Linked DNA regions of Homo sapiens: region 2 is linked to region 1. Evidence: promoter capture Hi-C in 16 types of primary human blood cells and fetal thymus (Javierre and others, 2016). All regions are on one chromosome and are shown on one strand. Each heading gives the region's core, a stretch centred on a gene start or on the middle of the fragment in contact. The rest is flanking DNA. Distances are from core to core; before and after follow the strand shown. Region 1 holds the start of OAF (out at first homolog). Region 2 holds the start of TLCD5 (TLC domain containing 5).

What was found. The method cuts DNA at HindIII sites, captures the fragments that hold promoters and counts their contacts. A CHiCAGO score of 5 or more calls a contact.
Region 2: a contact is called between the fragment with the promoter of TLCD5 here and the fragment with the promoter of OAF in region 1, in 6 of 17 cell types (naive CD8 T cells, total CD8 T cells, erythroblasts and 3 more). The highest score is 8.2, in naive CD8 T cells.

What each region holds. Positions count from the first base shown.
Region 1 is chr11:120,207,605-120,214,342 of GRCh38, reverse strand. It overlaps OAF (out at first homolog), which reads right to left and starts at 3,311. Exons shown (of 4, transcript NM_178507.4): 1 at 2,833-3,311. The coding sequence starts at 3,063. RefSeq lists silencers at 2,994-3,103, 3,194-3,243, 3,424-3,683 and an enhancer at 4,017-4,558. The HindIII fragment of the contact is 5,525 bases long and covers 1-3,773 here.
Region 2 is chr11:120,320,238-120,327,341 of GRCh38, reverse strand. It overlaps TLCD5 (TLC domain containing 5), which reads right to left and starts at 2,043. Exons shown (of 3, transcript NM_001198671.2): 1 at 1,974-2,043. RefSeq lists silencers at 1,679-1,738, 1,809-2,098, 4,471-4,630, a cis regulatory region at 2,362 and an enhancer at 2,290-2,434. The HindIII fragment of the contact is 8,838 bases long and covers 1-4,066 here.

The sequences.
Region 1 (6,738 bases), core at 2,062-4,561:
GAGCCCTTAACACAGTATCTAATACAGAGTAAGGATGTCATAGGCACTACTAACTGTGGGATATGTGCTATTATTATCCCCATTTTATAGATGAAGAAATGAAGGTCTGGAGAGATCAAGTAGCTTGCCCAGGGTGAACCTGCTAATAAGTGGTAAACCAAGTCTGTCTCATTCAGTCTGGACTGTTCTCCCCAACGTGATCAAATGGCAAACAAGGCTCTTCCCAAGTAGATGAGGACTTTTCCCAAATCACTGCAAATGAGTTTGGTACAAGAAACACAAAAAGCGTGACTTCCCAGGCTGGAGTGCAGTAGTACAATTGCAGCTCAGTGCAGCCTCAGCTCCTGGGCTCAAGTGGTTTTCCTGCCTCAGCCTCCTTGAATAGCTGGGACTACAAGGCACACACCAGCGTGCTCCGCTAATTTTTAAATTTTTTGTAGAGACAGGGGTCTCGTTTGGCCTGAAGATTTCATATTCCTGGTTTCAAGCGATAAGCCTGCCTCAGCCTCCCCAAATCCTGGGATTACAGATGTGAGCCACCACACCGAGCCGAAGTCTTTTTCTTATAGGAAAAATCATTCCTTCTAGACCAAACTTTCTTATGGAAATCTGACAAACACTATGAGGCATGGGGCCTTGAGAACTGAGAGGTGACCCACCCTAGAAGGATCTGGACATAGAAGCTGCTGTGGCCAGTGCAGGCAGTGAGTGAGTGGCCTGGGTGAGGGTAAGGCTATTCTCCCCCACACTGCACTCTCCAACTCCACCCCGTCCTAGGCCAATGGAGAAACCTGGAGTTAAAGGGACTTGGGAAAGCTGGTTTCCTTTCGGTGTCTTCCACTCCCAATTCCCTCCCTTGCTGATGAAATTGGAGATGCCAGAGGTGGGTATGAAATGGTAGCTTCTGGGTCAGAGGCTAACCTGAAAATCAGACTTTAGAAACCTGGGTGGAGGTCTGAACCACTGTAGAGATTCAAATGAGGTGCTCACAATCTCCAGATGCATTTTCTAACTGGGCAGTCAGATGACCAGCATACCCTCACTCCAATCCCCAGCACCCCACCCCCGCCATCAGCCACTACTGCCAGCACATCACAGCTACCTGGGTACTTCTTAGCCTCTCCCTTCAGATCACAGCAATAAAAACCTTCCAGATGTAGCTAAAGGCTATAAAAGCTCAGCCCTACCCATTGCCTTTCACTGTCCTGGCCACAGCCAGGGAAGTCTCTCTGCAGGATTCTAGTGCAGCCACAAGATGACATCCAGTGGGCAGGGGGTTGGGAGCCTCACAGCCTGGCCTAAGGCTAACTTTCAAGGACAAAGGGCTTGGACAGAAGATTAGATCCCCGATTCCTGATGGATCCAGCCACTAACATAGATTTTTCAGGAACAGAACACACTTGATAAAATTCTCCTAGGGTTTAGGTGGGGAGGCAGGGTGCCTAGCTTAGGCCTGCGGAGTAAGGATGGGCTACAAAGTCTTCCCATTTGTGAACGCTCACTACCCCACCCCCCATCTGCCTGCTTATGTCCAATGTCAGTGCCAACTCCGTGGCCCTGGGGCAATCAGCGGTCAAGCCTCACCCCCCAACCCCACCCACCTCTAGCGGTCAAGCCTAACCCCTCACCCCTGCTAACTATGGCAATCTGGCTGGGTCCCTAACTGACTTCCCAAACTCCGCCACCTCTCCTCTAAAGCGCCCTGTCTCTACGAGGGAGGAAAGACAGGCAGCTTCAGCAAGGGTCCCCGGGGCCCCGGGCTCCCCCAGCTATCTAATCGGCTTCACCCCTGCACTCCCCCAGGGACAGAGCCTCACAGGGCCTCTCTTTAGCTGGGGGAAGGAGACAGAACGCTCCTTTTGAATACCTAAGACTTACCCACCCTCTTTTCCTCCAGCTTTCCTGCTGCTGGGTCACTGTTAGTCACTCACCATCCAGGCCCATTTCCTGATAATCCCCCAGCCCCCTGGGTGCAAGGCCCTTCTTATTCCCTCCAACACAGACACACACACACCAAGAGCGGGCTGGTCTCTAACTCCCAAACCGTAATCTGGGACACACACCCACACACCCACACCCACCCACCCACCCACCCACCGGGCTGGTCTCTAACTCCCTAACCCTAATCTGGGCCAAAATAGGGGGGTTGGCTCGCTTCTCTGCCAGGCAGAGTGAAGGGCAGCACTTCTCCCAGAGGGAGGGGGCCTCAGCTGGGGTCTCTCTCCAGGATCCTCCTGCTGCAAGCGCCCCAGCCTTCCAGACCAAAGAGGAGACAGGGCTTCTCCCGGCTTGAGAGGGACCAGGGGCAACCAGCTCTCCCCAGAAAAGTGAAACAGAGGGAGAGGTGACAGAGGGACTCCAAAATGTCAGGGCTGGGAGGCCTCGCAGACCCCTCAGTGCCCTGTACAGGGGTGAGAAGCCAGGCCCATAGGAGGAAAGAGGCTTGCTTGCTCTAGATCACACAGGGAGAACCCACAGTGAGAGCCCACAGCGAGAACACTTCGCCTAGGACTTTCCCACTAGAGCACAGGGGAATGACTCCAAGAAGGGAGTCCAGTCGTTAGTAGGAGTTCTGGAGGAGGGTTAGCACCTGGGGGGCTCTGGGAGCGCTGGAGGAGGGAGTGAGAAAGGGAAGCAGAGGGGTTCTTTGGAGAGAATGAAGGGGTGGGCCCTGGGGAGTGGGCAAAGAGGTGTAGAGAAGAGCCCGGCGTGACCTTGGGCCAGCTGCGTCTCCCTCCTGGGCCCGTCTTTCCGTCTGCAGGCAAGAGAGCGCCTGGGATCCCGGGGGGCTCAGGCTTGAAGGTGCCACCCCGGCGAGTGAGGGCGCCTCACCTTCTTGAAGTCGGCGGTGAAGGAGACGAGGGTGCCGTCGGGCTTGCGCAGCTCGAGGCTGATGCTGTCCGCGTCGCTGTCCGCCTGCAGGCTCTCCTCGGTCACCTGGCCGTCCGGCAGCCGCACGCGGACCCGCAGCTCGGCCGGCGCACCCGTTCCCAGCAGCGGCGCGAGCAGCGGCAGCAGCAGCAGCAGCGCAGGGCGCGCCAGGGGTACCCCGGGAAGGCGCATCCCCGGGGGCCGCTGCCGTCCGCGGCCCCGGCGCGCCGCGTGGGGGCGGGGAGAGGCGCAGGCAAACTTCGCCCAAAGTTGGGGGCTAGTTCGGGGCGCCCGGGAGCCGCTCCGCCGGGGGCCTTGGCCGCGGGGTCGCCCGCGAGGTGGCGCGGACGCACGTGGGTAGCGCTCAGCAGGGCGCCCCCGGCGGCCCCGAGGCGGAGACGGCGCTGCCCCGGCCCGGCTCCGCGGCCCCGGGCTCCAGCGCTGCGAGCCTGTGTTTTGCACTTTTCATTCAATCCCACCCCCCGTCACTTCCTTCAGAAAACAGAAACCACCAGGACCCGCCTTAAAGAGACCGCGCACCTCGCGGCCCTTAAAGGGCCCGCGGCTGCTCTCCGCACTTCGGCGTTGGCCGGGCAGGGGGCGGGGAGAGGGGGCAGCGGCTCCGCGGCTTTGTGCGAGCGGCCTCCTCGACCTCCCTCCCGCCCGGCCGCGCGGAGTCAGCGACCCAGGCGGAGTCAGAAGTTTGCTCTCCCGGGGCAAATCCCTTCCTTCCAGCAGGGGCAGGACGGGTGACTCTTCCCCCGCCCTGCACCGCCACCCCCCCCCCCCGCTTTTTTTTTTTTGGCTTGCTTTTGTGCCACGTGGATGAAATAATCGGGCTTGGATTTTTAGGGGTTTTGTTTGGTCTTTCAGTTTCTCTGACAGCGAATTTCTAAAAAGCTTCTGCAAAATCAGACCTCGCTTTGCACTCTGCCTTTTCCCTGCCCCACACTGGGAGGGTGGATCGGGGGTTCTCGCCCAGCTTTGCCACGGCCAGGTGTTAGACCTTGATGGGTCAGGTCACCCACTGGGACGCGGCCCTCAGGTTTTGTGAGCCCCTGTGCCTCTTTCCTTTTCAGTCCTGCCTCCCGTGCTTCCCGCATTCACGGCCTTTCCTCAGTCCTGCCCACCACCGCAGACCCGGTTCTTTCTCTCTATTATAGACTATGAAAATCCAGGGAAATGTTGGATTCCAGGTCACTTGGGAGAATTTCCAGGGACTCGGGACGCTGGCGCTCCACGACAGTGGCTTTCCCACAAGCCACAAGGAAACATGCGTGCCCTGCGGTGCACCCCAACAATAAGAAGGGTGAAGACCAGGAGATCTGGATTGCTGCCTCCTCTGATTAGTTGTGGAATTTAGGCACGTTTTAAAAATTCTTTGGGCTTAAGTGTCCCCGTGTGTATCGTGGAAGCTGCTCAGACCTACACTGTCCTGCCAGTCCCAGGCAAGGGAAAAAGCCCCACGAAGATGCTCAAAACCAATTGTTCCCTGACTTCCATTTTCACTTCTGTTGGGACCTTGATTACTGATGGGTGAAAACTCCCTTCTCTGCAGCCTCCTTCCCTTCTAGGGCTTCCCCAGCACAGGGCCATGTGAACTGCAGGGTCCGGCTAGAATCGGCCTCTTGCTATCATCCAGGGGCCCTTCCCGCTACCCGCTCTCTGCTGCCTAGATTTAGGACTGAAGGGAATTTAAGAGACTACCAAGTCAGCCTTTTCCAAATTTGCCTTTCCTGAAGAATCACCTGGATGCTTGTTAGAAAATAGATTCCCGAATCCCTAAACCCATGGAATCAGATTCTAGGGAAAAGAACTGAGGATTAGCATTTTTGACAAGGCCCACATGATGCTCGACATAAGTGGTTGACAGCAGGTATTTGGCAGATGTTTAAGCATAGAGCGTCTGGGCCAGACGCGGTGGCTCATGCCTGTAATCCTAGCACTTTGGGAGGCCGAGGCGGGCGGATTGCCTGAGCTCAGGAGTTCGAGACCAACCTGGGCAACAAGGTGAAATCCCGTCTCTACTAAAATACAAAAGAAATTAGCTGGGTGTGGCGGCGTGCGCCTGTAATCCCAGCTACTCGGGAGGCTGGGGTAGGAGAATTGCTTGAACCCAGGAGGCAGAAGTTGCAGCGAGCCAAAATTGCGCCACTGCACTCCAGCCTGGGTGACAGAGGAAGACTCCGTCTCTACAAAACAAAACAAAACAAAACAAAACAAAAACATAGAGCATCTGAAACAAGCAGCATCCTTCCTGGAGAACCTGGCTCCTAAGGAGTTCATCTTCACATCCGGGAGATAAGGCAGGCTGTTAGGGAATAATTGGATTAGCACAAGGATTGCTCCCCTAAGGACTCCCACTCTTAGCTGGCAACCGTTTAGACTAGAGATGCCCAGGGTCTTGAAATTGGCCTCCCGCCTGACAGGATGCTGGATCTCCATGCGGCCTTGAAGCTAGGTCTCCCACATGAGTCAGCCCACACAGTCATTAAGGGCCTCGCCCACATTTCCTAACTTCCCTTGTTTCAGGTCCTGTCCCCATCCGCCACCAGCTCTGCCCTCAGCCATTTCCCAGGCTCTTACCCCTTCTCCTCCCACAACAGCCCAGAAGTGGGCAAAGAAGCCCTGGATGTCAGATTTCTTGTTTAGGTCCCTGAGGTTTGTCTCTGTTCACATTTTGGGTTTGGAAACAAGGATGGAAGACCTCATCTCTTTCCCACCTCTTCCCCATAGTCAACTTCCTTCTCTACTTCAACCACAGATCAAACCAGATTTTTCTTTGAAAGTGATAGGGCATTTGAAATCTCACTCCATTACATAAGCCCTGCCTACCTACATCTCTATGCCTTGCTATTGATTTCACCTGACCACCTCTTCAAGCTCCAGGACAAAACTCAGGTTTCCCAGGAAGACTTTCTCGACTCCCCACCGACCTAGCCCTCTGTTCTGTGCCACTGTCTCCGGCCTCTGGACTCCAACAATAGTCATTATTATAGCAGCTCCTCCCCCATTGTATTTTGATTATGTCCAGGTTCTGTGCCAAGCATTTTACATGGATCATCTTATTTAATTTTCATGGCATCCCTCCAAAGTAGGTTCTATTCTTAGGCTCTTTTTACTGACTAGGAAACCAAAGCTTAGAGAGGTTAGGCAACATACCCAAGGTCACAAAAGCAGTAGAGCCAGCCGGGACTCAAACACAAGTCTGCCCGCCTGACCACAAAGCCCTTGCTTTGAACCACAGTAGCCTCTGCCTGTCGGTAGCCCTCACTTTCTGCCAGTCCCACTCGGGGCTCACATCCTGCGCTATCTTCTCCTGTTATCTAACGGTTTCGCGTGTGGCAATCCTGTATCCCCAGTGAAGCCGTCAGCTAGTTCAAACAGGCCAGCCCCGTGCTGGGAACAGACAGCGTTTCCCTCAAACCATCCGGGCATAGAAGCATCCATTCATCTTAAATGTAAAGGCCGTCAGAGGAAGAGCTCTAACAAGCCTAATTACTCCGACTACAACCAAACAGCCCTCATTGTCAGAGAGTTCTTCATGTCTCATCGCAAGACCTCTGCCACACCATAAACCAATTTCCTTTTTTTTCTCATCTCTAGCCCTTGGAAAGCAGTAGCCAGTAGTGGTTCAGAAAATGGGCATCAGGATCTCAGTCCTGGAGCTCGGCCCCAGTCATGAGCTGTGCGTCAGTGAGCCTGTTTCTTCAACTGTAAAATGGGCGCATACGTTTCTCCCTCACTGGGTTGCTTTGAAAATTAAATGAAACATTGTGCATAAAATATTTCGCAACATGTTTGGCATATAGTACAGATCCAATAAATGGTGGCTGTTATCCTTTAATTCTGTTTATTCTTTCCCAT
Region 2 (7,104 bases), core at 794-3,293, 110 kb before region 1:
GTTCAAAAATATTGCCTTATCTTATTTTCCTTATCTACACGGCCAAGAATCTTCTATTTAAGTATGGCTGTATTTATCATTCCAAGTTCCTCAGAGATAACATGTTAGCAACTGGTCAATGTTGTAAACTGGAAACCAGGAACTGCACTCCGAGCTGGTAGGCTGACATCACATTTTATGATGAGTAAATGTCAATAATAACCCTCTAGCGATGACTGACCTTGGGCAATAATACACAGAAAATAAAGCACATGTATTAAATAATGTCTTCACAGTTCAAAAACCCCAATGAAACGCACTCATGAAAAAACAGAACACTGCCACGTTGGTTTCTGCTAGAGGTCACATGACACATGGCAGTTTAATGTGGTTTTAAGCTGATACTAAATTCAGCTGAGGTTTGGATTTGGGTCACAGGTTCATCAGTCAAAAACAAAACTTGGGATAAACTTAAATACAGAACTAAACAAAGAGTCCAGACATCTTGGAGGTTGGGGGGAAATCCTGGCTTTATTCAGTTCTGAAATCCGACCCAAAGATTTGCCAAGAGTGAAGCAGAAGGATTCTAAGGTTCAAGAGGAGGGGAGTTTTTGTTGAGATCTAAAAATATCCTTAAGGCAATTATTCAGTTAAAAATGAAATGAAGCCAGAAAGCTGTACCTTGGAACTTTTACTGGTGACAAATACGTTAGGACAAGAACAACTATAACTGAGTCAATTTAGTCACACAGGACTAAAATCTAAATGAGCAAGATGTTGTTATTAGTTAGTATTCATTAGCTCCTCCATTGAAACGTACAAATAAAAAGTCAAAAACATATCAGATATCTACTTCATCTCAGCAGACATTTTCTGCATGGCTATGCTTATTGCTTAACCTTATTCTGACCAGTGAAATAGTTATCTGTGGACGTCAATACACAAGCCACTTCCCAAGAATGCTATCCAGAGAGGGCTTCATGAAGGTCAAGTTCTGTACAGCTTTCATCTGAAATCAGATTTCCATTCAAGAAAACCGTAGGTGTCCATAATAGACCTGGGTTCCAATTCTGTCTCTGTCCCTAGAGAGACTAGCCATAAGAGTGTGGGCAAATCACTTTAACCTCTAGAACCACAGTTAAAAAAAAAAAGAAGAAATTAAAGAAAAGAAAAGAAGGAAGAGGAAGGGGAGGAAGGGAAAGGAAAGAAAGAGACTAGGACTGAAGAACTCTACAGTCCGGTCCAGTTCTGACATGGAGTTCTGAGATAAACTTTGTAAAACATCAAGGCCAATTCTCAGAGTAAGGGCCAGAAATACAAAGTATCCCAGGTGAAGAGAACTGCCCTCCCTTATCTCCTTCTAAAGGCCAGGGTCACTGGCCAGTAATGCGGATCAGCTCATTTGGATATGCCTATTAGTATTTTTAGAGTCTTCTTCTCTGAATCCTAATTCCTTGGCAGAACAGAGAAAACAGTAGCCCATTTACAAACACTTAAATAAAAGAACAGACATTCGTAAATGGCAGACACAACTCTGTGACCTTGGGAACTCCCTGTGTGGGTTTCGGCTTTTTGCTCTTGGTTTTTGCCAAAGAACGGAAGGGCATTTGGAAGGCCATCGCGGCTCAGAGGTCCAAGGCTCCTCTCCTGGTTTCTCCCGTTCCAGGGCCAGACTGGCGAGGAGGAGCCTTGGAGCAGGCGTGGCTGGCGGCGAGCGCGGGCCCCGGGGCCTCGCAGGGACGGCGATCGCATCTCCGCGCGGCGGTGCCTGCGACGCTCGGCCACGCCCGGACCAAGAGCCGGAGCCAGGCACCGTTATCCCCGCATCCCGCTGGCGCCGCAGCCTGGCGCAGGAAGGCCTCGGGCGTCCGAGGCAGGAGGAGGCCCGCTCCCCTTCGGAGGCGAGCCCGGGCCCTCTGCCGCCTCCTTCCCCACCAATGGGCCGCGCGGGCCCCGTGCCCACCCCGGCCGGGCAGTTCGCGCCGAGCGGTTACCTGGCGGAGCGCACCGGGAAGCCTCGGGCGCCCGGGCGCCCGCAGCTCCCGGCCCGGATCGCGGCAACAGGAAGCGGAGGAGCCAGAGGCGGAGGACGAGGCTGTGACGGCGGCGGAGGAGGAGCCGGGGGTCTGGGGGCACCTGCTGGCTGGGAGGATGGAGCGCAGAGCCGGAGCCGGGCCACCGACGCTCCGAAAGGGCGCGGGAGGGTCCTCCTTCTCTGGCGGGGGGGTCAAGAGGGATCTAGCGGTGACGTGAGACCTGGAGGCCGCTGCTCTTGTTTAGCTGTTGTTGTTTGTTTAAATCATTATCCACTTCTCCCCTCCCCTCAATGGGACAGCTCATCCAATCAATTTATCGAGTACCTACTAAGTACTTGCACCCTTACTAGGCATTGTGGGGGATGTAAGACATCGTTCTTGCCCTCGTGCTTGAATTTAAGTCGTGAAACAGGAATTGATGAGCAGGAAAGTGCTCAGGCCTGAGAATTAGAAGTTACAGTATTCCAGTCAGCCCTGTAACCAACTTGACAGTAAAGCATAAGGCTTGAAAGTGAACCTTGCTTGGTACCTCTTTGGGCAAGTTACTTTTCTGTTGCCTCCCTTTCCTCGATCCTGAGGATGGGGATAGTAATAACACCTATCTCATATGGTTATTTTGAGAATTTTAAAATATTACATGTGTAAAGTGCTTTGAACAATGACTGGCACATGGAAGTCACTACATAAATACCAACTGTTTTATTTCACTTTGGGTAAATCCTTTTCTTCTCTGGTTCTATTTTAATACCAAGCAGAGTAAGTTTGAGCGATAAGAATGGAGGCTCGAATGGGGTAAAGACGGTGTCTGTCTTGATTGATCAGGACAGGCAATCCCGGGTGCTGAGGAACCTAGACATTCTCAAAGGAGAAGACCGTTAGCAGAGGTGTGAGTGTTTAGGCCGTGCCTGGGGAATAGTAAATATTCTAGTTTTGGTCATTTATCTTACCAACTCTTCAAAGGTAAGGATGGCACTGGTTTCATCTTTGTTTCCCTAGTACCTAGCATGAGGCAGGTACAATAAATGTTTGTATGTTGAATTAATGTGAAATGAGCCTGGGAAACTATCTTGGAAGCATATCACAGTTCCTAAAGTGTGTTGATCAACTATGCCACTTGGGAAGTGTTTTCAAATACCCTGTGCAGGCTGTACCTTGAATATTATGATTTATTAGGTCTGGTATGGGGTCCAGGGATCTGTATTTTTTAAAACCTGCCCAGGAGTCATTCAGACGATCACATTTGATAACCATTGCTGTTAGAGTCCTTAAATGCCTCTGATGCCAGCCTAAGATGCCAGGCTGAGAGAGCTTATTATGTGGAAGCTCATGATGTTATTGAACAAGGGAATCATATTATCATGCTCTCCAAGCCCTTGCTACTCAAAGTGTGGTCTATGGACCAGCAAAATCTGCATCACCTTGGAGTTCATTAGAGACTCAGAATCTCAGAACCTACCCCTGGACCTACCAAACTAGAATGTGCATTTTAACAAGTTCCCCAGTGATTCGTATACACATTTGGGTCGTAGTTCTTAATCTTGATAGCATGGTAGTATCACTTGGGAGCTATTTAAAATCCTAATACCCAGGGCACACTCCGAAAAAAGTAAATCAGAATCTCTGTGTAGATATCAATCAATTTAAAAGCTCCCTGGGTGATTCCAATGTGCAACCAAAGTTGAGAACCCCAGCTCTAGCAATACTCAATTAAAATCAGTGTAAGATGAATTGCAGAAGGCCTGTTACACATGTGTTAGGATAGACCGGATAACAGGTAATGATAGTCTGGAGAAGTAAAACATGGAAGGCTCCACTTCACTGAATGGAGAGTATGCAGAGCTCACCCTTTCCCCCATTTGTTTTGTTGCAGTATTTTTTTTCTAGTATCTGAATCTGGACTTTCTTCTTGCTGCCATCATTTCCCACAAAAGTAGGGTACTAAAGCCTTCAGGAGCCTAAAGGCTGAGGGGGTAAGGTAAAAGGGAAGGAGCCAGTTCTTCCTAAAATATTGGGCCTTTATCCTAGGGTGACTGGGATTCTAGGTTCAAGCTTCATGACCTAGGATTAAATTTTGTTGATGTATGTATCTTTGGCCACAATCCCTGTTCCACCAAATCAGATCCTTGTCACCGGTAGCATCCCCCAGAAATTCTGGGCTGTTAAGGAGAGCAGGGGACAGGAAGCTCTCCACCAATTTAATAGCAATGAGAATAATAATCACAATAATAACAAATAACACCTATACTGCCCTTATTAATGTACCAGGCATTGTTCCAAGCACTACATATATATATATATACACACACACACACACATATATATACACATATACATATATATGTATACACACACACACATATATATGCATACACATACACACACATATATATATACACACACTCAATCCTCACAAACAATTCTATGGGATGGGACCTATTGTTATCTCCATTTTACAGGTGAGAAACTGAGTCATGGAGCAGTCAAGGCTTTCCCAAGATGACACGGTTAGTAGGAGGCAGAGTAGGGTACAAACCCAGGCAATATGACTCTGGAGATCACGCCTGTATGGCAGATGCACCTGACAGCGGTAACTTAAGTATAACCTGAGAATGACCCTGTGTGGCAGACACACCTGAATGTGTGTCTAGTGTTCCAAGCGTGGCCAACCCAGAGATTATTCCTTATGTATGAGGAACATCTGAGCCCCTGGCCCAGCCCTTGGAACATGGGCCATACAGGGGGCTGAGGCCCTTTGTTTTGGGGTAAATGAAGGTTGCCAGGTGGAGGTTGTTAGCGGGAGGGTGTTAGATGAGAGTGCCATGTAAACTGCGTGCTTTCTGCAGGCAGTGGTGGTTCTCCTGTCCAGCCTGTTGCCACCGGATCCCTCTTATGTAAGTTCCCCTCAACAAACCCTATGTCGCATTTGTTGGCTCTTGGTCTCTGGCCTCTTGAATCTGGTGCTATCCCTCCTGAAGTCAATAGGGGTCTGGCATGACAATGCCCTTAACCACTGTGATATGCTGCCTCCACTTACCTAAAAATTCCTGCAGGTTTGCACTGTATTCTGCTGTATTCACAACTCCTATCTCAGTGAAGGGCATTAAAAATTTAGAGGGAAAAAAAGGGAATTTTATATTTAAAAAACATAACTGCCTGTTATGTGCTAGTCACAATGTTAGCCACAGGGATACAGAAAAAAAAAAAAAAAGCCTCAACTGCAAGGAGTTCCCCCCACAGAAGGAAGAGGCAGAAGAGTCAGCAGGTGAGCTATGGTGGGGCCACACAGAGCACAAGAGGAACCCTGGCAACCTGGGAGCTCCGGCCAGGGTTCCTGCTTTGAGTCCTAGGGTTAATAAACTCAGTCTCTGAGTCAGACCAAAAGTTCTTACTTTGTCTTAGGAGGGCAGAGCTGGGCCCACCCGTTTTGAGTCAACTAAACATCAGAGTATGAAATACAGTTCGGTTGGGCGCGGTGGCTCACGCCTGTAATCCCAGCACTTTCGGAGGCCAAGGCAGGCGGATCACGCGGTCAGGAGATCGAGACCATCCTGGCTAACATGGTGAAATCCCGTCTCTACTGAAAAATAGAAAAAATTAGCTGGGCGTGGTGGCGGGCGCCTGTAGTCCCAGCTACTCAGGAGGCTGAGGCAGGAGAATGGCGTGAATCTGGGGGGCGGAGATTGCAGTGAGCCGAGATCGTGCCACTGCACTCCAGCCTGGGTGACAGAGTGAGACACCATGTCAAAAAAAAAAAAAATACAATTTGAAATGTAGCAACAACAATCTTTTTTTTTTCCTCCCTTGGCAATGACTGGTGGTTGCCCTCAGATTCTCTTGTCCCTAGTTAGATGCTGAGGCGGCGAATCAAGCTTCAGTTAAACTTCCCTGGAATTACAGATTTTACAGAATCATGCAGACATGAAAGGTGACCTTGCTCACTTTCAGGCTTGATTCTGTTCAGCAATGTCCAAGTTAGTTGGCAAGGAAAGCTACTGGAGTCTGAACAGGCTACAATTCTGTTTATTTCTTTCATAAAAAATCACGGGCAAATGGATGAAAATCCAAGTTTTGGACAATGCAGAGGATCAGCTTTCAGCACTCACCTGAGTAGGATGTCAAGGTAGCCAGGACTTCTGTAGAAAAGGGTCAGCTCTAGCATCCATGGGCATACAGGGAGGAATGCATGCATGCATGTGTATGTGTGCAGAGATATGCACAGATGGGCTCATGGGTGGTGGAGCAGTCCCCTTAGTTACTTAAAGTACTGCGGAAGGCTCCTCTTGCTGTCTCTTTGCTACATACCTGGCCCCTTTTAACTAGATATTTTCTTGAGAAAGTAAACATTACCATTAGGCCTTCTCCCACTTCATGACGTGAAATAGGAATTTTTAAAGCCCCATTCAAACATCAGGGAGCGGTTAACTCTTCATTATTAATATTTAGGTTTCCTGTGTGGATATTATTATTTGCAAGAAGTGTTTAATCCTAATTTTAGTTTTTCCCCATCAGCCATTACATTTTTGAAGGGCCTCTCTTTCCCACAGGTCAGCGTTTATCTCAGTAATGGTAACTATTTATTACTTATTTTATTTTTTGAGACGGAGTCTCGCTCTGTCGCCCAGGCCGGAGTGCAGTGGCACAATCTTGGCTCACTGCAGGCTCCAACGGTAACTATTTAAATTTGTATTAATCTAAGAAAAAACACAAGAATAGGTTTGCTGCCTTTCAACCTCCTAACCAAAAGTCACAATGCATTCTGAAGCCATATATATATATATATATATATATATATATATATATATATACATGAGACAAATATGTATATTTGAGACAGGGTCTCACTCTGTTGTTCAGGCTGGAGTGCAGCGGCATGATCATTGCTCACTGCAGCCTTGACTTCCTGGGCTTAATAGATCCTCCCATCTCAGGCTCTTCAGTAGCTGGGACTACAGGCATACACCACCAAGCCCAGCTAATATGTGATTATTAAATTACCCTCTGCCTTAACTATTTATTGCTTTATGTTGTGAGTAATGAACAACTGCCGTTCAGGGTATCTGAGACATGAGACATTAGCCTCAGTCCCCAC